Linked DNA regions of Homo sapiens: all the other regions are linked to region 5. The links are contacts of gene promoters, found by promoter capture Hi-C in blood cells and fetal thymus (Javierre and others, 2016). All regions are on one chromosome and are shown on one strand. Each heading gives the region's core, a stretch centred on a gene start or on the middle of the fragment in contact. The rest is flanking DNA. Distances are from core to core; before and after follow the strand shown. Region 1 has its middle 11 kb from the start of CRYGD. Region 2 has its middle 29 kb from the start of PLEKHM3. Region 3 overlaps LOC105373854 (a long non-coding RNA gene). Region 4 has its middle 33 kb from the start of CRYGD. Region 5 holds the start of FZD5 (frizzled class receptor 5). Region 6 holds the start of IDH1 (isocitrate dehydrogenase (NADP(+)) 1). Region 7 overlaps PIKFYVE (phosphoinositide kinase, FYVE-type zinc finger containing).

The links. The method cuts DNA at HindIII sites, captures the fragments that hold promoters and counts their contacts. A CHiCAGO score of 5 or more calls a contact.
Region 1: a fragment that was not itself captured here is called in contact with the fragment with the promoter of FZD5 in region 5 in 1 of 17 cell types (megakaryocytes); the score reaches 5.1 in megakaryocytes.
Region 2: a fragment that was not itself captured here is called in contact with the fragment with the promoter of FZD5 in region 5 in 9 of 17 cell types (megakaryocytes, M0 macrophages, M2 macrophages and 6 more); the score reaches 15.7 in megakaryocytes.
Region 3: a contact is called between a fragment that was not itself captured here and the fragment with the promoter of FZD5 in region 5, in 13 of 17 cell types (megakaryocytes, erythroblasts, M1 macrophages and 10 more). The highest score is 32.8, in megakaryocytes.
Region 4: a fragment that was not itself captured here is called in contact with the fragment with the promoter of FZD5 in region 5 in 6 of 17 cell types (megakaryocytes, erythroblasts, M0 macrophages and 3 more); the score reaches 10.6 in megakaryocytes.
Region 6: a contact is called between the fragment with the promoter of IDH1 here and the fragment with the promoter of FZD5 in region 5, in 4 of 17 cell types (neutrophils, total CD8 T cells, megakaryocytes and 1 more). The highest score is 6.6, in neutrophils.
Region 7: a fragment that was not itself captured here is called in contact with the fragment with the promoter of FZD5 in region 5 in 1 of 17 cell types (erythroblasts); the score reaches 5.0 in erythroblasts.

Annotation. Positions count from the first base shown.
Region 1 is chr2:208,111,770-208,114,469 of GRCh38, reverse strand. It overlaps the pseudogene CRYGEP. Among named protein-coding and RNA genes, the nearest start is that of CRYGD, 11 kb to the left of the region's middle. RefSeq lists an enhancer at 2,240-2,700. The HindIII fragment of the contact is 578 bases long and covers 1,059-1,636 here.
Region 2 is chr2:208,052,940-208,055,639 of GRCh38, reverse strand. It overlaps the pseudogene RNA5SP116. Among named protein-coding and RNA genes, the nearest start is that of PLEKHM3, 29 kb to the right of the region's middle. The HindIII fragment of the contact is 3,051 bases long and covers 1-2,700 here.
Region 3 is chr2:208,070,951-208,073,650 of GRCh38, reverse strand. LOC105373854 (a long non-coding RNA gene) reads right to left here. Exons shown (of 4, transcript XR_923815.3): 3 at 1,291-1,388. Among named protein-coding and RNA genes, the nearest start is that of PLEKHM3, 47 kb to the right of the region's middle. The HindIII fragment of the contact is 3,248 bases long and covers 1-2,700 here.
Region 4 is chr2:208,090,314-208,093,013 of GRCh38, reverse strand. No RefSeq gene overlaps it. Among named protein-coding and RNA genes, the nearest start is that of CRYGD, 33 kb to the left of the region's middle. The HindIII fragment of the contact is 3,045 bases long and covers 1-2,700 here.
Region 5 is chr2:207,768,656-207,771,355 of GRCh38, reverse strand. FZD5 (frizzled class receptor 5) reads left to right here and starts at 1,450. Exons shown (of 2, transcript NM_003468.4): 1 at 1,450-2,091; 2 at 2,362-2,700. The coding sequence starts at 2,617. RefSeq lists enhancers at 1-385, 550-599 and silencers at 1,150-1,829, 2,170-2,229, 2,640-2,699. The HindIII fragment of the contact is 9,976 bases long and covers 1-2,700 here.
Region 6 is chr2:208,253,621-208,256,320 of GRCh38, reverse strand. It overlaps IDH1 (isocitrate dehydrogenase (NADP(+)) 1), which reads left to right and starts at 1,250. Exons shown (of 10, transcript NM_005896.4): 1 at 1,250-1,382; 2 at 2,362-2,435. IDH1-AS1 (IDH1 antisense RNA 1) reads right to left here and starts at 1,088. Exons shown (of 2, transcript NR_046452.1): 1 at 890-1,088; 2 at 127-418. RefSeq lists an enhancer at 1,016-1,542 and a silencer at 1,996-2,105. The HindIII fragment of the contact is 4,060 bases long and covers 1-2,700 here.
Region 7 is chr2:208,273,690-208,276,389 of GRCh38, reverse strand. PIKFYVE (phosphoinositide kinase, FYVE-type zinc finger containing) reads right to left here. Exons shown (of 42, transcript NM_015040.4): 3 at 2,657-2,700. Among named protein-coding and RNA genes, the nearest start is that of PIKFYVE, 8.8 kb to the right of the region's middle. The HindIII fragment of the contact is 3,746 bases long and covers 1-2,700 here.

The DNA of each region.
Region 1 (2,700 bases), core at 98-2,597, 340 kb before region 5:
AACATAGGATGTGTTTCCACTTATTTATGTCTTCTTTAATTTCTTTCAATATTTTGTAATTTTCAGAGTATAATATACTTGTTTTTTTTTTTAACTTGACATATGGTAAGCATTTTCCATACCCTTAAATAAATTCTTTGACAACATGATTTTTGGTAGCTGCATAGCATCTCATCAAACAAGTGTTCCATGATTTATTTAAACAATGCCCTATTCTGGACATTTTATTTGTATCTAATTTTCTATATTATAAACACCATTCTGATAAAATATCACTGTTCATAATCTTTGTATGCATCTTTAATTTTTTCCATTGGACAAATTCCTAGAGATGGAAATATTAGATCACAGGTGTGAGAATTAGGAGTTTTTAAATATACATCAACAGTGCTACTTTTTATACAAAACTACGGCTTAAAATCTTTTCTCCTTTCTACTGCTTTATAGTTTCTAAATTTTCCACAAAAGTTATAATTTTTAAAAGAGAAATATGTAAATGAGGCTTATTAAACTTACGTGGATCACATAAAATTTGTCCAGAGAAAGCTATTTTTTAGTATTAGACTTAGGTAGCAAGAATCCAAACTAAGGAGTGAGACTGGGTGCACCAAAGTTATTCTAAATCAGTGGTTCTTAGTGCGGATGGGGAGTGGATTTGCTTTCCAGGGAACCTTTGGCAATGTCTGCAGACAGTTCTGCTTGTCACGACCGGACAGTAATGCTACCGGTACCCAGATGGTAGAGGCCAGGATGCTGCTCAATGTCCTGCAATGCACAGGACAGCCTCCCCACCCAGCAGATAATTTTTTGGGCCCCAAATGTCAAAAGAGTGCTGCGGTTGAGAAACCTTGCTCTAAAGAGAGTGGAACACCAGGAGGGACAGGGTCCCGGCAAAAGGAAGGAAGACCCCAGTCCCTGGAGTCAGAGCCTTAACTAGAGAGCCACGAGGGTTTTGCCCCAGGGTGAAGAAGGCAGAATCTTTGCAAGATTGCAGGATCTTCAATGTGTTATATTTGCATGTTAACTTGCATTTGTCAGCAGCTAGAACCAACTAAGCTTAGCCTTTAGTTAGCAAAGTTGTTAAATAGAAAGTTACCAGTGTAATAACCGCCAAAGTGTCACTTCATGAATCCCACAGTTGAGAGTTTCATTGCCTGTGCTGAGGCAGGCACGGTGCTGAAGCTGAAGACTTCCCTGCTTCCACCCAGGCTCCAGGGATCAGAGCTGAGGCCAGGTGCCTAAATAGGGCTTCCCCAGGCCCAACCCCTGGCGTCCAACCTCCTGCATTAGTTATCTGATACCCTGCTTATCAGCAGGTAGGATCATAGAGAGGTTCTCTTAAAGGAGAATCACATCCTACTGTAAACAGCCCGAGGAGAAGGCAAGTTCATCCTCACGTTTCACATTTCACACCAATCTAAACAATACAGCCTCATGCTGTAGTCTATTTCGACCTTAGACTTGGTCGCTATTCTGCTTTGTTGCTCAAACTGAACTTTTAAAAGGTAAATAAAACATTTAATTACAATTACTAACTCTTAAGCACTTGCTCAATTCCAATTTCCCAAATAGGCTTTATGTAAAGGCCCAAATGGCACTAAGTGACAGTTTTAACCAGATCATCAATTCGAAAGCTTTAGAGAGTCTAAAAGAAAACATACAATAAACCTCCCACCCCCTCCCCTACAGTCATTATATGGAACAGAGAGAGAGAGAAAAAAAAATGCCCTTGCTCCCCTCCGGGGGCCCCTTTTGTGCGGTTCTTGCCAACACAGCAGCCCTCCTGCTATATAGCCCCGCCGCGCTGCCGCCCCACCCGCTCAGCCCCGCCGTGCGCCCAGCCAGCCATGGGGAAGGTGAGCCCAGCCCGTGCCCCCCGGTAGCTCCCTGCATGGCGGGGGCCGGAGACTGGGGCAGGGGCAGGCCTGTGAGACCTCGCCTTGCCTCGCCTTGCCTTGCAGATCACCCTCTACGAGGACCGGGGCTTCCAGGGCCGCCACTACGAATGCAGCAGCGACCACCCCAACCTGCAGCCCTACTTGAGCCGCTGCAACTCGGTGCGCGTGGACAGCGGCTGCTGGGTGCTCTATGAGCAGCCCAACTACTCGGGCCTCCAGTAGTTCCTGCGCCGCGGCGACTATGCCGACCACCAGCAGTGGATGGGCCTCAGCGACTCGGTCCGCTCCTGCCGCCTCATCCCCCACGTGAGTGCAGTCCCACCCGGGCCCTTCCGTGCCCTCGAGTCGCATCAGTGATCCACGTGGATGATTCACACGACAGGCGATGGGATGCGATGGCAGGCTTCTTTTTTCTGGCTCTAACTATATTCTCTTTTCCTTTATTAACATGCGTAAGGTTTCCTCCCACTGAAAAAGTATGTGATGCAGTGCTTTTAACTGGTCATTTTATTTTATTTTGCTAAAGTCAAATTCACCTCTACTGGGAATAAGTTGTGCGTGGCATTAGCTCAGAGCGTCTATGCCACAGGTGATGAAACAGCAACAGATTAATTCCTTGCTCTCAGGTGGCCATAGGCTAGGTGGCTATTTCTTTTACGTCATCTGTAAAAAGGGCTGATGAGAGTAGTTCCTTTATAGGGTTCCAATGAGGGTAAAAGGAGGGTGCCTGGCACATGCCAATCCCCAACCCCGAGTATTAACTATTATTATGAACATCAAGGGTCTCTCAAGTCCTGCCTTC
Region 2 (2,700 bases), core at 167-2,666, 280 kb before region 5:
AATAAAGATACCCTTGAAAGCCTGCTGCCAGAAAATACAGTACAACAAAGAAGCACAAAAGGTTGCTGGCTGCCAGGTATAATTTCCAGGTACTCCAAGTGCATTTGGACTCCCTGTTCTCTTAGCTTTGCTTTGCAGATTGGCCGTCTTCGTGGTAGGCTCGAAGTATCCATTTAGTCACCCTAGTGTGTTATCCAAATATTTAGAAGGAGAAAAATTGTGGGAAAATAACCTTTAATTTTACAATTCTCCAAAGGAAACTGTTCAAAATTAAGAGGTCTAAGAAGCTAAGAATGAGTGTTAATCTATTTTTCTGTTTATTACCTATCACTTTGGATAATCTGGAAATAATTTTGACAGTGGGATAAAAGTTGAAGTTGGGGTAAGAGTCCAAATTTTCGCAAAGTAGCTTACATCAGAATAAAGTCGCTGTCAATTAGATTGCTTGCATATAGATATGCGAGCTGTTACCCCTATCCATTACATAATCTTACTCCAGCAGGGGCTGCCAAAAACCTGTAGGCAGGAAAGATTTACACTCAGTTCTTCATAAGTACCCAAAAGAAAAGAAATCACTTTAGAATGATTATATAAGTTAAAGAACATGGCCAAGTTTGTGCCTTGAACTTTTAGTCTATCAATTAGCAATAGTAATTGCATACTGCTGAGATGTTTTAGAGACTGAGATGGTGTTTTAAAAGTGTTTTGTGCTATTCAGAGGGAAATGCAATTTACGTCATATTTTAGAATGTGAATTATGAAGGAAATTGTCTCTTTTTCTTCCTTATTCCCCTCTTCCCCCTCCTCTACCTCCTTCTCCTCCTCCTCTTCCTTTTCCTCTTCAGATTTTCCCTCTTTGCCTACAACATTAAGAGAGACTATTCACATTATAAAGACATTGATTTCCTTAAATGATCTGTAAATTCAATGTATATGCCAAATAAAACACCAAGGTGATTTTTTTCAACCTGACAAAAATAACACTAAAGTTCTTCAAGACATATAAATGGGCAATTAGAAAAACTCTGAAAAACAAGAGTAGTGAGAGGGTAATTAATACAACTATACATTAAAATGTATCATGGAGTTATAATAATTAAAATATCTTATTCTAGAGAAGAAATAGAATAGCTAAATAGAATAGAATGGAATAGAAGAGAATCAACAGAAATAAACCCAAATACGTATACAGATTTAATGTGTGAAAAAGGTAGATGAGTCGAATTTATAGGGGAGGGATGGGAGAAGGGAAGATGTATTAATCAATAGACAGTGATGAGAAAACTGGCTAGGAATGGAAAATAAAATAAAATGGATTCTTTACCATGCTCTTTATATTCCCAAATTTCCAGAGGATTCAAAGATAGCAATATAATACATACTCTATGGCCATACCACTCTGAATGCCCCCAATCTTATCTGATCTCAGAAGCTAAGCAGGGTTAGGTCTGGGGGCCTGCTTAATACTTGGATGAGAGAAATGTAATATAAACAAGTAAGTGTATATATGTGTATATATATGTATATATACACACACACACATACACATGCATAAGTATATATATACACACACATATACTTATATGTATATATTATACTTGTTACATATACTGGTTTTGAACTACTATTATATATATTAGATTATATAGTTGGTGAATTTATATATAATCTGGAGTATGAAATATATGTTAATCTAGGAGTTGTATATAATCTAGGAGTTTTTAAAAAACTGGTGAATTTATATATAATTAGGAGTTTTGAGTGAATTTATTTATATATAATAAATATATAAATAAATAAATTTATTCATTTATTGGTGAGTTTATTTATATATAATCCAGGAGTTTAAAAATAATTTCTAGGCTGGGTGCTGTGGCCCACACCTGTAATCCCAGCACTTTGGGAGGTCAAGGTGGGAGGACTGCTAGAGCTCAGGAGTTGCAGACCAGCCAGGCATGGTGGTGCACACCTATAGTCCAAGCTACTTGGGAGGCTGAGGTGGGAGGATGGCTTAAACACAGGAAGTTGAGGCTGTAATGAGCTATAATTGTGCCACTGCACTCCAGCCTGGGCAACAGAGTGAGACCCTGTCTCAAAAAAGAAAAAAAGAAAAGAAAACGTAAAATAAAATAATAAGATTTTTTCTTCATTTTTTTTGTTTTATTTTTTATACCCACACTACACAGATGTAATATAAAAAGACTTTCTAGGCAAGACACACAATTCTAAAGTCTTAAAGGAAGAGAAAAATGTGAATATATACAAAGTGGAAAAAATATTGCAACATTTGGCAAGCAAAGAAAATCATTAATATACAACTTCTTGTACAACTCAGTAAGTAAAAACAAATCAAAAAGAAAATGGTCAAATCTATTAAAATCTTTGTCTCATTCACAATTAAATAACTGCATATAAAAATAATGAGTATATCCATATAATGAAATATTATCTGGCAATAAAAAGCAGAATTATTAAATAACTGCCAAAAAGTATAAATAACCCAAATTCTCATCAACTGATGAATGGATAAACAAAATGTGCTGTATCTATACAAAAGACTGTTATTCAGCCATAAAAAGGAATGAAAAACTGACACGTGCTACAACATGGATGAGCCTTGAAGACGTTATGCTAAGTGAAAAATGCCACACACGAGAGCATATGTTTTATGATTCCAATGACATAAAATGCTCAGAATAC
Region 3 (2,700 bases), core at 64-2,563, 300 kb before region 5:
GCTAATGTTTGTATTCTTAGTAGAGACGGGGTTTCACCATGTTGACCAGGCTGGTCTTGAACTCTTGACCTCGTGATCTGCCCACCTTGGCCTCCCAAAGTGCTGGGATTATAGGTGTGAGCCACCGCTCCTGGCCCTTTTCTGCTCATCTTTAACAAAATATTGAAATGTGTTTTCAAGGCTGGGTGTGGTGTCTCCCACCTGTAATCCCAGCACTTTGGGAGGCTGAGGCAGGCCGATTACTTGAGCTCATGAGTTCAAGACCAGCCTGGGAAACATGGCGAAATCCCATCTCTACAGAAAAATGCAAAAATTAGCCAGGTGTGGTGATGCATGCCTGTGGTCCCAGCTATTCAGAAGGCTGAGGCATGAGAATCACTTGAACCCAGGGGGTGCAGTGAGCAAGATCATGCCACTGTACTCCAGCGACAAGAATGAGACTCTGTCTCAAAAAAAAAAAAACAACAAAACAAACAAACAAAAAAACAAAAAATAAAAAAAGAAGAAAAGAAGCCAGATGCAAAAAAGTACATATTGTATGATTTCATTTTTATAAAATATAAAAACATGCAAAAGAACTCTATACTGTTAAAATCACAAGGGCACGGGTGGGTTTCTGGGTTTCTGGTGACATTCTGTTTCTTGATCTGTGTACTGGTTACAGGGGTGTGACCAGTTTTTGAAAATTCATTGAACTAGACACTTACAATGTGTGCACTTTTCTGTATATATGTAATACTTTAATAAACAGGGTTTTTAAGAGTAGCGTAAGTTGCTTGAAAAAAATTTGCAGGATAGATGCCTTGAATTTATATTTTCTCCTACGTGCTGCAGTCAGCTAGAGTGAAGTGTGAAAGGCTCACTCTTGACATTTGGGCCCTTCATTCCTCCTTTATTCATCCATTTAACACATATTTATTGAAGAATGGTGTCAGGCACTCGGAGGCAAACAGAGTCCCTGCCCTCATGCAGACTACAGCCTATGCAGAAAGGGAGGAGACAGACGTCAATCAAATAGTCATACGAACACACATATCAGAGATGGTGAGAGAAAGGGGGGATGCTGAGAGGCCTCTCTCAGACCTAAAGGGTGAGTAGGCTTTGGCAGAAGAGGATATTATAAAGGGAACAGTGGTCTGGTGGCTTTTAAACGTTAGGCTTAATTCGTCCAGTAGAGGGCGACCACAGCCAGGCATTTGTGGCAATTCCTACTGCATCAGGAAAGCTGAAGGCTGAAGGTTTGCTTATCATCATCTCTCACTGAGTGTTGAAGGAGCACAAACTACTCACCAGAAACTAAGAATCCAAGTGTAAATTTACAGACGTCAATGTTGCTGTCTACCATTGCCCAACAGTTTGATGCAGATTCCTACCAAATGCCTACTGACCTTAATAAAGAAAAAAGAAAAAAAGTTAATAAGGCACAATTAAAGGAATCAAAATAAAAGCCCTTTTCTTGATTTGCACACATCCTCAAAGAGCTGCCTCAAGCACAGATACATACACATGTGACGTTTTCTTATTTATTAGTACTCCCCTCCACACAAACACACAAGTGCCTCATATCTGCTGTACCCCACATCCTCTACGGAAAGCATGCTACTGTGGATCTACCTCATGGATTATTGGTTTTATTCAGGCAGCTGATGAACAAATATAATTTTATATGTTGCCTATAGACATAAGGCAAAACAATCAATAATTTCCCACATCCCATTAAATGATTAGGGATGTAATCAGGATTAAAAACCAAGATATTTCCAGCGTACTTAAGGATAGATTTCTTTAACATCTACTATATATCAGCACTAGCGAGACTCTAAGTCATGTCACTTCCTTCCTTTAAAATTAATTCCCACTGCAGGCTGGGTACAGTGGCTCATACCTGTAATCCCAGCACTTTGGGAGGCCAAGGTGGGTAGATCACCTGAGGTCAGGAGTTTGAGACCAGCCTGGCCATTATGATGAAACCTCATCTATACTACAACTACAAAAATTAGCCAGGCATGGTGGCACACGCCTGTAATCCCAACTATGCAGGAGGCTGAGGCATGAGAATCACTTGAACCCAAGAGGCAGAAGTTGCAGTGAGCTGAGATCATGCCACTGCACTCCACCCTGGGTGATAGAGTGAGACTCAGTCAAAAAAAAGAAAAAAATCCCAATGCAATTAAAAATTTTCAGTTTTTTAAAAAATGAAAGCAATTCTCTGACAGGTAAAGGCCTGTGTGGTCTAGCCATTATCTATTATCCCAGACTAATCTCCTTTCCTTCTCATTATGTTTCAGACTTTCTTGTTTCCATGAAATTGCCATTTTCCATTTGCTGTTTCCCTTGCCTGAAACATTCTGCTTCCATCATCTAACTGGAGGCTTCTTATCATTCAAGTTCCAAATTGTTGCTTCCTAGGAAAAGACCTCTTTGACCACTCATTCCTGTCTGCCCTTCCCAACATGCAAAACAGAACCCTGATCTTTGGCTGGAAATGTTTTGGGTTTTGTTTGTTTGTTTGTTTGTTTGTTTGTTTGATGGAGACAGAGTCTCTCTCTGTCGCCCAGGCTGGAGTGCAGTGGCATGATCTCAGCTCACTGCAACCTACGCCTTCCGGGTTCAAGCAATTTTCATGCCTCAACCTCCCGAGTAGCTGGGATTACAGGCATGCGCCACCATACCCAGCTAATTTTTGTATTTTTTGTAGAA
Region 4 (2,700 bases), core at 139-2,638, 320 kb before region 5:
GTTTTATTCTCAGGCAGGCTCTTTCCATATGGTGGCTGTGGTAGTTAATTTTAGGTGTCAACTTGTCTGGGTTAAGAAACCCAAATAGCTGGGAATACATTATTTCTGGTATATCTGTGAGGGTATTTCCAGAAGAAATTGGCTTTTAAATCAGTAGAGTAAGGAAGACCCATCCTCACCCAATGTGGGTGGGCACCATCTGATTAGTTAAGGGTCCAAACAGAACCAGAAGGCAGAGGAAAGCTGAATTTGCTCTCTCTTCTGCAACTGCGACACCATCTTCTCCTGCCCTTGGACATCAGAACTCCAGGTTCTCTGGCCTTTGGACTCCAGGATTTGCACCAGCAGTCCCTCAGTTTCTCTGGACTTTGGTCTCAGACCCAGAGTTACACCAATGGCTCTCTTGGTTCTCAGACCTTTGGACTTGGACTGAGCCATGCTACCAGCTTCCCTGGTTCTCTACCTTGCAGGTAGCCTGTCAGGGGACTCCTAAGCCTCCATAATCACAGGAGTCAATTCCCATAATAAATCCTCTTTCATCTATCTGTCTATCTATCTCTCTATCCATCCATCCCATTGGCTCTGTTTCTCTGAAGAACCCTGACTAATTCAGTGGTCCTCAACTGTTTCAGCCTTAGAATACTCTAAATGGCTGAAGCAAACCCTGGAGTTGGGAGATAGAGTCAATGAGACTTAAGCCACATGGAATGAGAATGAGGAAGAGGTCACATGTAGGTCAAACATAACAGCTGTTGCTTATCTTTTACTGGGTGTTCTCTAAGCAAAGTTGGATCTAAAGTATTTTGGGGATTAAATGCAAAGCATTGAACACTTATCTTTAGCAAGAGAGATTTCTGTTCATTTAGACTTCTTGAAGCAGTCTACTTTATCTTCAATTATAAATTTAGGTTGGGCTATTGAAAATGTTCACAAAACTTCATTACTTTTGAAAATATAAGCTGGAAAAATTTCTTTAATTAACAAATTTAATTGATTGAAATTAATTAATTAATTTTTATTTATATTTTTATTGAGATGAGGTCTGTTTTCTAAGGAAAAGAGGAGTACTTGAAGGTAGAATGGATTCCAAGAAGAAAAATCAAAACAAAACAAGTGCTCCACCAACATTGCACATGTATACATATGTAACAAACCTGCATGTTGTTCACGTGTACCCTAGAACTTAAAGTATAATAAGAAGAAGAAGAAGAAAGAAAAAAAAAAACAAGTGCTCATCACCTGAGTATGCTCACTACAAAGTCCAAAGAAAATTGATAACTTGCTTCATGCCACAGCATGTAGCAGACACTCCTGCTAACAAACAGGCAAACTAGTCACTGGCTCCCTCATTCACTAGGAACACAGACACTGACAGTGGAGTCTATGGAGAGCATCTCCGATTTCCCAGTTAGCACCCTATCACATGCAGCTTTATGAAGTAGAACATGTTTCTTCTTCCTTGAAATTTAGACTGTTTTAAGCCTGGCATGGTGGCTCATGCCTGTAATCCCAGCACTTTGGGAGGCCGAGGCGGGTGGATCACCTGAGGTCAGGAGTTCGAGACCAGCCTGGCCAACATAGTGAAACCCTGTCTCTACCAAAAATACAAAAGTCAGCTGGGCATGGTGGTGGGTGCCTGTAGTCCCAGCTACTGGGAAGGCTGAGGCAGGAGAGTTGCTTGAATCTGGGAGGCGGAGGTTGCAGTGAGCCAAGACTGTGCCATTGCACTCCAGCCTGGGTGACAAGAGCAAAACTCCATCTCAAATAAATAAATAAATAAATAAATAAATAAATTTAGACTGTTTTAAAAAATATGACTGAAAAATTTCAGGTTAGATAAGCACTTCCTGTTGGTAAAGGTGAGTAGACCCTGGAATGGAATTATTATGTAAAGTTTTAAGATTTTTCTATCATGAGCTATGTAGAAAATAGGGCCAATAAACTTACTGATCTCTTAAAGGCAAGCCTTAGAGTAATCTACAAATAAATAAATAAATTTAGACTGTTTAAAAAAAAGTGTACTGAAAAATTTCAGGTTAGATAAGCACTTCCTGTTGGTAAAGGTAAGTAGACCCTGGAATGGAATTATTGTGTAAAGTTTTAAGATTTTTCTATCATGAGCTGTGTAGAAAATAGGGCCAATGAACTTACTGATCTCTTAAAGGCAAGCCTTAGAGTTATCTACAAATTATCCCATGCCTTTGAATGGCCAGGTCTCTTCAGGGTTCTCCAGAGAACTAGAACCAACAACATATGTGTATATAAGAGGAGATTTGTAGTGAGGATTGGCTCATGTGATTATGAAGGCTGAGAAGTCCCACAATTTGCTGTTTGTAAACTGGAGAACCAGAAAACTGGTGATGCAATTCCACTGGAACTCTGAAGTCCAAGTCTGAAGGCCTGAGAAACAGGAGAGCTAATGGTGTATGCTCCAGTTCAGACCCAAAGGCCTGAAAACCAAGAGCACTGATGTCTGATGGCAGAGAAAGACAGATGTCCCAGCTCAAACAGAGTGAATTCACCCTCCTCTACTTTTTTGACCTATTTGGGCCCTAAAAGGATAAAATTATCCATAAAATGATAAAATTATTGTATTGATGAACTTAATTTTCTTTACCGAGTCTACTGATTCAAATGTTAATCTCTTCCCAAAACACTTTCACAGACATACCCAGAAATGTTTTACCAGATATTTCAGCA
Region 5 (2,700 bases), core at 201-2,700:
AAAACTTGTAGCATAATTGCGCAACTGAAGAGCGCCGCCGTGTCCCCGCCATCGGTGCGCCCTCCGACCCCCCGCGGCGCGCAAGTGCGCGGCTTAGCAGCAGGCAGCCGGGGACGGAAGGGCACGGGGAGGCCGGCGCCCTGCCCAGCACAGAACCCTGGGTCGGTATCGCTTCTCTCTGCGGGCGACTTCGGAACTGCCTGGGATTATAAACCTCGACCAATAAAGGACTCACATCTTTCTGGGTCTTCTAAAGGCAGAAAGAAATCCATTTTCTTGTCACAACAAGATTTTGTTAAGAGATGCAAAAGTAAAGGTCGAAGCCAGGGAGGCTGCGATAGTATGGGGGGAGGGGCGGCTACGATGGTGAGTGCCGCTGACCAACTACCTGGGTTCGAATCCCAGGGTTGCCATTTGGGCGGCTACTATGTGCCAGGTGATCGGAATACGGAGGTGAACTTGCTTGCCGAGGTCGCCCTTTCTTGGGGGAACTATGATTAGCTCGGTTGCCTTGGCCAAGTCTCAGTCTCGGTTTCTTCACCTGTAGGAAGTACCTGCCTCAGAATTGTTGTAAGGAGTGAGATCTTGTCTTAAGATGTAAACGGGCCGGGCGCGGTGGCTCACACCTGTAATCCCAGCATTTTGGGAGGCCGAGGCGGGCAGATCACGGTGTCAGGAGTTCGAGAACAGCCTTACATGGTGAAAGCCCGTCTCTACCAAAAATACAAAAATTAGCTGGGCGTGGTGGCGGGCGCCAGTAATCCCAGCTACGCAGGAGGCTGAGGCAGGATAATCGCTTGAACCCGGGAGACAGAGGTTGCAGTGAGCCGAGATCGCGCCACTGCACTCCAGCCTGGGAGACAGAACAACTCGTCTCAAAAAAAAAAAAAAAAAAAAAGGATGTAACCGATTAACACTTTGTTGGGCACACAGTAAAGGGCTCAGTAAGTATCCTCTCTTCTTTCACACAGTTCCAAGACAGCTCGGAAGGGAGACAGCCACGCCTAAGAGTGATTCCTTGAGCAGTTCTTTCAAAGAAGCACTGAACTCTGTAAGGACGCTTAGCTGCAGGCAGAAAGGGCAGGGGCCCTGGGAGCAAAGGTGCATAAGCCAGGAAGTTACAGGAGCGAGTCCTGCACCCAGGGCGCGGGCAGAGAACTCCGGAGGGACTTCTGGCAAGGGCTTCCCGCCCGGGTGCCCAGAGCGGCATGATTAGCATTCGCCCCGCCCCCATCTCCTCCAGGCCCGCGATTGGTCAGCGCTCCTTGGCTGCCCGCTCCTGGCGGGGCCAGAGGGCGCCGGGGGAAAGGCCGAGCCCGCGGGGCAGTGGGCGGGGACGCGCGGAGAGCTTGGCGAGGCGGCCCACCAACCGCGCCCGGGCCTGAGGGGGCGGAGCCGGGGCGGGGCTTCCCGGCGGGCATTAGAAGCAGGTGACCCGGGCGGGGCGGGAGAGGGCAGCCAGCCTGCGGCCGTGAGTCCGCTGTGGTCGCCGCCGCGCGCGGTTCCGTGCTCGCCAGAGGTGGGCGAAAGGGTGCGAGAGCGCGGGGGAGGAGCCGAGCAGGGCACGTCCCGAGAGCGTCGCCACCGCCCCCAGGAGTCCACTGGAGCGCGGAGCCCCCTGCAGGGGAGGAGGCGAGCGGCGGGCGGGACGCGGCGGCCGGCGCTCACCATGCAGTCCCGGCCTGGCCAGCGCCGGCTGCTCGCGGTGCTGTGAGGCGGCGGGGTCCCACGGCCCCCGCCTCCCGCCTTCCTCCCGCCCAGGTGCTGCCAGGCGCGCTCGCCCTCCGTCCGGCTCCCGGCCCCGGGGAGAACGCACGGCCTGCCCCTGCCCGGCTCCGTCTGGATCATGCGGGGGGCTCCCGAGGAGGAGAGGGCGAGTGACCGGCCTGCGCCGCCCCTGTTCTGGGGGCGCCCCCCACTCTGAGTCGCCCCCACCTGCTGCCATGTGCCGCTGCCACGGGTACCCAGCCTGTCGCTAAACTTTCCGGGCGCCAGCCCGGCTCTGAGTCGCGCTTCTCAGCGGAGTGACCCAGGGACGGAGGACCCAGGCTGGCTGGGGACTGTCTGCTCTTCTCGGCGGGATCCGTGGAGGTGAGAACCTTCCCTTTCTCCCTGTTCTTCTCCCGTTTCCTGTGCCCTTTTCCGGGAAGCTGAGGGTTCTGGTCTCCGGGCACTGCCTGAAGGGCCCAGCTTGGAAAGAGAGGGTGGGGGAGTCGGTAGTTTGGTTACAGGAGGCGGAGCGGGGAGGAAAGGAAAGGGGTTAACTTAAGAGATTTGGAGACAGCTCGCGGGGACCGAACTGTTGACGCCTCTCCAACAGGGAGTGGTTGCAATCTTTCTTCTCCCCCTTCTTTTTTAAAGAGTCCTTTCCCTGGAATCCGAGCCCTAACCGTCTCTCCCCAGCCCTATCCGGCGAGGAGCGGAGCGCTGCCAGCGGAGGCAGCGCCTTCCCGAAGCAGTTTATCTTTGGACGGTTTTCTTTAAAGGAAAAAGCAACCAACAGGTTGCCAGCCCCGGCGCCACACACGAGACGCCGGAGGGAGAAGCCCCGGCCCGGATTCCTCTGCCTGTGTGCGTCCCTCGCGGGCTGCTGGAGGCGAGGGGAGGGAGGGGGCGATGGCTCGGCCTGACCCATCCGCGCCGCCCTCGCTGTTGCTGCTGCTCCTAGCGCAGCTGGTGGGCCGGGCGGCCGCCGCGTCC
Region 6 (2,700 bases), core at 1-2,500, 490 kb before region 5:
ACTTGAACCCAGGAGGCGGAAGTTGCAGTGAGCCGAGACTGCACCAGCCTGTCAGGGCAAGACTCTGTCTCATAAATAAATAAATAAATAAATAAATATTGGAGCATTAAATTCTGGGCAGCAATATACAAGCATGCTATTGTCCTACAAATCACAATATAAAATACTCTTTATTTTCATGTTTTTGAGAGCAATGAACACACAAAATATAATCTCTGGAGGAGACTAAAATTCTTTTTTCAATCCACCGTTTTCTAAGGCTTCACATCTCTAGTCCAACTTCATTGGATCACAGATAATCCCCCGCCAACTGAGCATGGTGGCTCACGCTTGTAATCCCAGGACTTTGGGAGGCCGAGGAGGGCCAATCACTTGAGTCCAGGAGTTCGAGACCAGCCTGGGCTGCTGAAACCCATCTCTACCAAAGGAAAAAGAAAAGAAAAGAAAGAAAGAAAAATTAGTTGAGTGTGATTGTGTGCACCTGTAATCCCAGCTACTCGGAAGGCTGAGGTGGGAGGATCTCTTGAGCCCAGGAAGTCAAGGCTGCAGTGAGCGGTGATCGCTCCACTGCACTCCAGCCAGGGCAACAGAGCAAGGCCCTGTCTTAAAAAAGAAAATAATAAGAATCCCATTCATTATCTTCTAATGCAAACAATCAATGGAGTTTCTAAAGACCTAGACATAGGTGGTGTCAGGACCTGCTTCTGTAACTTTTCCATCCTTTGCATTAGGCAGCGCGGAACCCCCTAGGCGACCCCGCGCTGGCCGGGAGCACTCTTTCTTCAGCCAAAGGTACGTTCCATTACCGCCCCTCGGGGGCGCGCTAGGCAGCGGGCCGGCCAAGCTGCCGCCGCCCAGGGCGCCCTGTCCCGTTCGCTTTTGTGCCGACCTGGAAACACTCTGTGGTGCTCTAGATTGTTACAAAGTTCGGGGTGGTGCAGCCCCAGCGCGCCCCGCTCCCCGGCCTGCAGGTGGCATACAAGTCTCTTCGCTGTCGGGATTCGGGACTGAATCTCTGCCGGGCGGCAACCCCTTCCCCCACCGGGATCACCGGGAAAGTGGCACCATGGATTCTCCATCTTTGACTGTGGCCACGCCCCTCTCGCTGACTCCGCCCATCCCACGGGAATTGGCGTGTGGCGATTGGAGGCGTGTCGGGGGCGGGGCTGGGGGAGGTGGGCTGAGGAGGCGGGGCCTGGGAGGGGACAAAGCCGGGAAGAGGAAAAGCTCGGACCTACCCTGTGGTCCCGGGTTTCTGCAGAGTCTACTTCAGAAGCGGAGGCACTGGGAGTCCGGTTTGGGATTGCCAGGCTGTGGTTGTGAGTCTGAGCTTGTGAGCGGCTGTGGCGCCCCAACTCTTCGCCAGCATATCATCCCGGCAGGTAACCTCAGGCTCCAAGGGGCGGCCCCGGTCCCTGGCTGTGGAGGGGTGGCTCTAATTCCGCAGAAGGCAGGAATGGGGTAAAGGAAAAAAGCGCAGATCTTGGGTGTGGAGGGAGTCAAGGCCTGCGTGCAAAGAAGGGAACAAATCCAGGTATTGAGAATGGGAAAAGAAAAGGGAAGGAGGGGATGCTGGATGCTTGGATATGCAGAAGGTCTGCTTTTGGGCCTGGGAGGGAGAAACTGGGCGGTGAGGAAGTTGGATGCAACGACAAGGGGAAAATCAGGTCTGCACTTGGGTTGGAAAATCGAGGGGTGGAAGTTGCAAGAATGCATGTAGAAGACTAAGCCTGGAGTGTAGGAGGAAGAAAACGTGCAGCAGCTGGGGGCTGGATGCAAAGAAGGCTGTAAGCCGCAGACGGGCGTCTGCAGGCAACTCAGGCGGCGAGGAATAGCCTTGAAGCCGATCCCTCGCGTCCGCCAGGGGGCGTGGAGGGGCGGAGCTCCAGCGGCCTTCAGAGGGGTCGCTAGGCCACACGGGGCGAGAGGGGGCTGGGGGAAACACCCCCGCCAGTTCCGGGTGCCTGGAGTTTAAAAGGTCCCAGCACCAGCGAGGGGAGGGGAGGGGAGGGGCGGGCGTGGAGACCTGGAAGGAGGTACCGATCCAGCCTTGATTGCAGCCCTCTTGCACAACGGCCATAAGGACGGGTGCAGGCCAAGAGCAAGGACATGCAAACCCCAAGACCTGCTAACGGGCGGCGAAGCGGGGGCACGCCCTCGCACACGCAGAGATAAATTGTGCTCCCATGACCTTTATTTGGAAAGTGCCTGCGGGCCTAAAATTGGCCTTTGTCCCACCGAGTACACTCAGCACTGTACTTTAAACCGGATAAACTGGGCTGTCTGGCAGGTACTAAAAACAGCTAAATTCTCCTGTGAGTGTTCTGTATGTTAACACTTTTATTCCTTGTTTTGTTTTAGGCGATAAACTACATTCAGTTGAGTCTGCAAGACTGGGAGGAACTGGGGTGATAAGAAATCTATTCACTGTCAAGGTGAGAATTAGCAAATTTTCCCCCTTCTTCTGTACTTTCTTTGATGTGGCAGTACAGTGTTTAACTGGTCTTGGGGGCAGGCCGAGGCACTGCAAGGGAATGAGTGAGGAATATTTCCAACAACGAATTCCAACAGCTTCCTTGTTTCTTTTAATACAGTGTCTTATCTGCAAGAGATCCTTTTTGCCCAGAAATTATTGTAGTTCATGAACTCGGCAAAAAACAATCTGGCCAAAAACTTGAGGTTGATGAAAATAATATTAAA
Region 7 (2,700 bases), core at 92-2,591, 510 kb before region 5:
TGGTCCAACCTATAATAAATGCATGCTAGAAATTTAGCAGAAGAAAAAGCAATCAAGGAGGGTTAACTTAGCTTGGTCTCTAAAGTCAAACAGGTAAGCAATAGGATCAAACAGTTCAGTTCTGTCTATATCTGTAGACCATATATCCAAAGTCTCATACAGAAGATGATCAGAAAGAAGTTTAATAGCCCAGCCTTCAAAGATTCTGACAGACTTCACAACATCCAGGATGGCAAATTTTGCCATGGTAAAACCTGACCTATGTCCAAGCAAATTAAAACTGCCAGAAAATTGCTAAAACTCCAATCCTATCCTTCCCTGTCACTTCCCCAACCCCACAGCTCCAAATAGGAAAGGATCATTTATACCTGACATAGCAATACTGAAGCCAAATCTATCACTAATAAGCCCAAATTCCAGCCTCATGGCCAAAATAGGGTATGCCCACCAAAGTTGTCACTTATTATTTCCTTAATTTAGACCAAAATTACAACTGAAGTTTCTGCCTATTTCTGGCAGTTACAAAACCTAAGCATGAAGCAAAGACGTTTTGACAAAAAGGATGAACATCCTATTAGCTTAAACCCATCAAACTGATAACCTATGGCAAAGTAAACTGGAAAATACCCCACTCTGAATCTTCCTCAAACTCACCATTTGCTAGATAGGTGCTGTTTTGGCTGGGAGGGAAAAAAAAGAATTACAAAGAAATGAGAGGTTGGGATCTAAAGTTTACAAAGAATTTCCCAAGATAATGTAATCACTGAAGTAACTACCAAAATTGTACCTATTTTAGAAAACTTTGGCAACTTTTATCTTTCTATAAAGTTATATCTTAATTTTAGCACATACCTCAGATGTGTTGCTACTGTATTAGAATAACTAAACTTGAGTCTCAAAACAAAAAACAACTCCCCATGATCTACAAATTGAAAAAGAAGACAGATGAAGCTACTGGAAACATAATGGCTGTGCTTCCGTGCAGCAGGCAAAAACTTGTGAAGTCCCTGGCATTTAGCCAATTAGGAATATAAGAAAGTAGTAATAGCATCATCCGCTGAAAAAGGATGAGTGAGACCCTTCTTGGAACCAAGAGAATCACAGATGTTGGCTGAAGATGAAAGAAACCCAGAGAGAAAATCTGGTCTAGCTCTATGCCCTTAGGCAAATAGCCTTAGCTGCTTCTCTTGCAAAATGAACATTAGAAAATTAAATAACTTTCCTAAGGTCGGAAAGCTAGTAAATTATAGAATTACAGCCCTTTTAATAGGGAAAAGAACTTGACTGGCCAAATAACACCAGGCTTCTGAAGCTCAAATGCCTTCAAGATAGAATCAAATAATCAAGCAGACTTGAGAAGGACAGTAAGGAAACTAGACAGTAAAGGCTCCACCTGGAGATATTAAAGTTCAAGTTGATCATAATACCAATGGCAAGGTTTGGCAGGCTGCCAATTTGTAACTCCTAAAATATTACATTTTAGTCTAACTTGATTTTAGAAATAAAAAAATCCTACACTCAATTCAGCATGGGATTTAGTCAAAACAGCTCCCTCAACAAAAAGAGTGTTGTTGTGAGTCAGATTCAAGAGCTAAGGAGAGTTTATTGAGGTTAAAAGTTAAAATAGAGATTATCTGGAATAAAAGGAGAGCTCCTTTCTTTCTCCCTCTCCCACTCCCCATCTTCTGATTCTTCCCTCCAAATGGCTGATGTAACCCTGGCTGAGGCTCACTGCCCTAGAAAACCTGTGCAGGTGATGCAGCCAGCTCTGTGCCAGTCCTCGGGTAGAAACTCTACTTTTGCTCAGTTTCTCTTTGTTCTGGCTGACCAAGTCTGAACTCACAATAAAATATCCTTCTGCCAACCACCACTATCTGGGGGAAGATCAGCCACACCAGACGAGATCTGGTGTTCTGGGGCATCTAATTCCCAATGCTGCATCCCTTCCCCTCTATCATGCCACCTCCCACTTCCTTTGTCACCTTGACTTAGGCAAACCACTCCAAGTTGAAAAATCTGACAGAAATAAAACATAAACCACCTCTCTTTTTCTAATCTCTCAATTCTGACACCAATCCCCAGCCCATACTCATCAGAAGAGCATGAAAATGAAGGAGATGACTGTGTAGTAGACCAGAATGGAAAACAGACAGATGAGAGGAGCTCAGCTTATTCAGCCACACTGACAGTTTGCACCCCAACAAGGACAGAAGGCCAAGAGCAAGTGGCAGCCCAATAATGGAGTTGACAGAGTTCTGCAGCCAGAGGCATGCATATCACATTTCACTAGCACCCCAAGAACAGATGCAGAATTCATTCACAAAGTGGAAACTAACCTGTGTTCTCCTGGGGATGTTGCAAACTGTTGTCTGCTGAAACCCAAGCAAGTAATTAATCAAAAAATAGTCAAGAAATCTGTGCCTTGCCTAAATTAAAGTTTAATGAGACGTTTAAGAATTTTTTCAGGTGTCAATAAATTCTTTCACTACCGAGGTAAGAGTTTTATTTACTCTAAACAGTACCTGACTATTTCAAATAGTATCTTACTATTCCAAATAGCAGGAAAGTTAAGTCCTGCTATAAACAACCTAGGAAACACAATGACTGTGGAAAAATCTAGCATATAGAAGGGAATGAAATAAGAACACTGTTTTACCTAATGCTGAAGAGCGCCGCTGGAGTTCCTCATTAAGCTGCTTT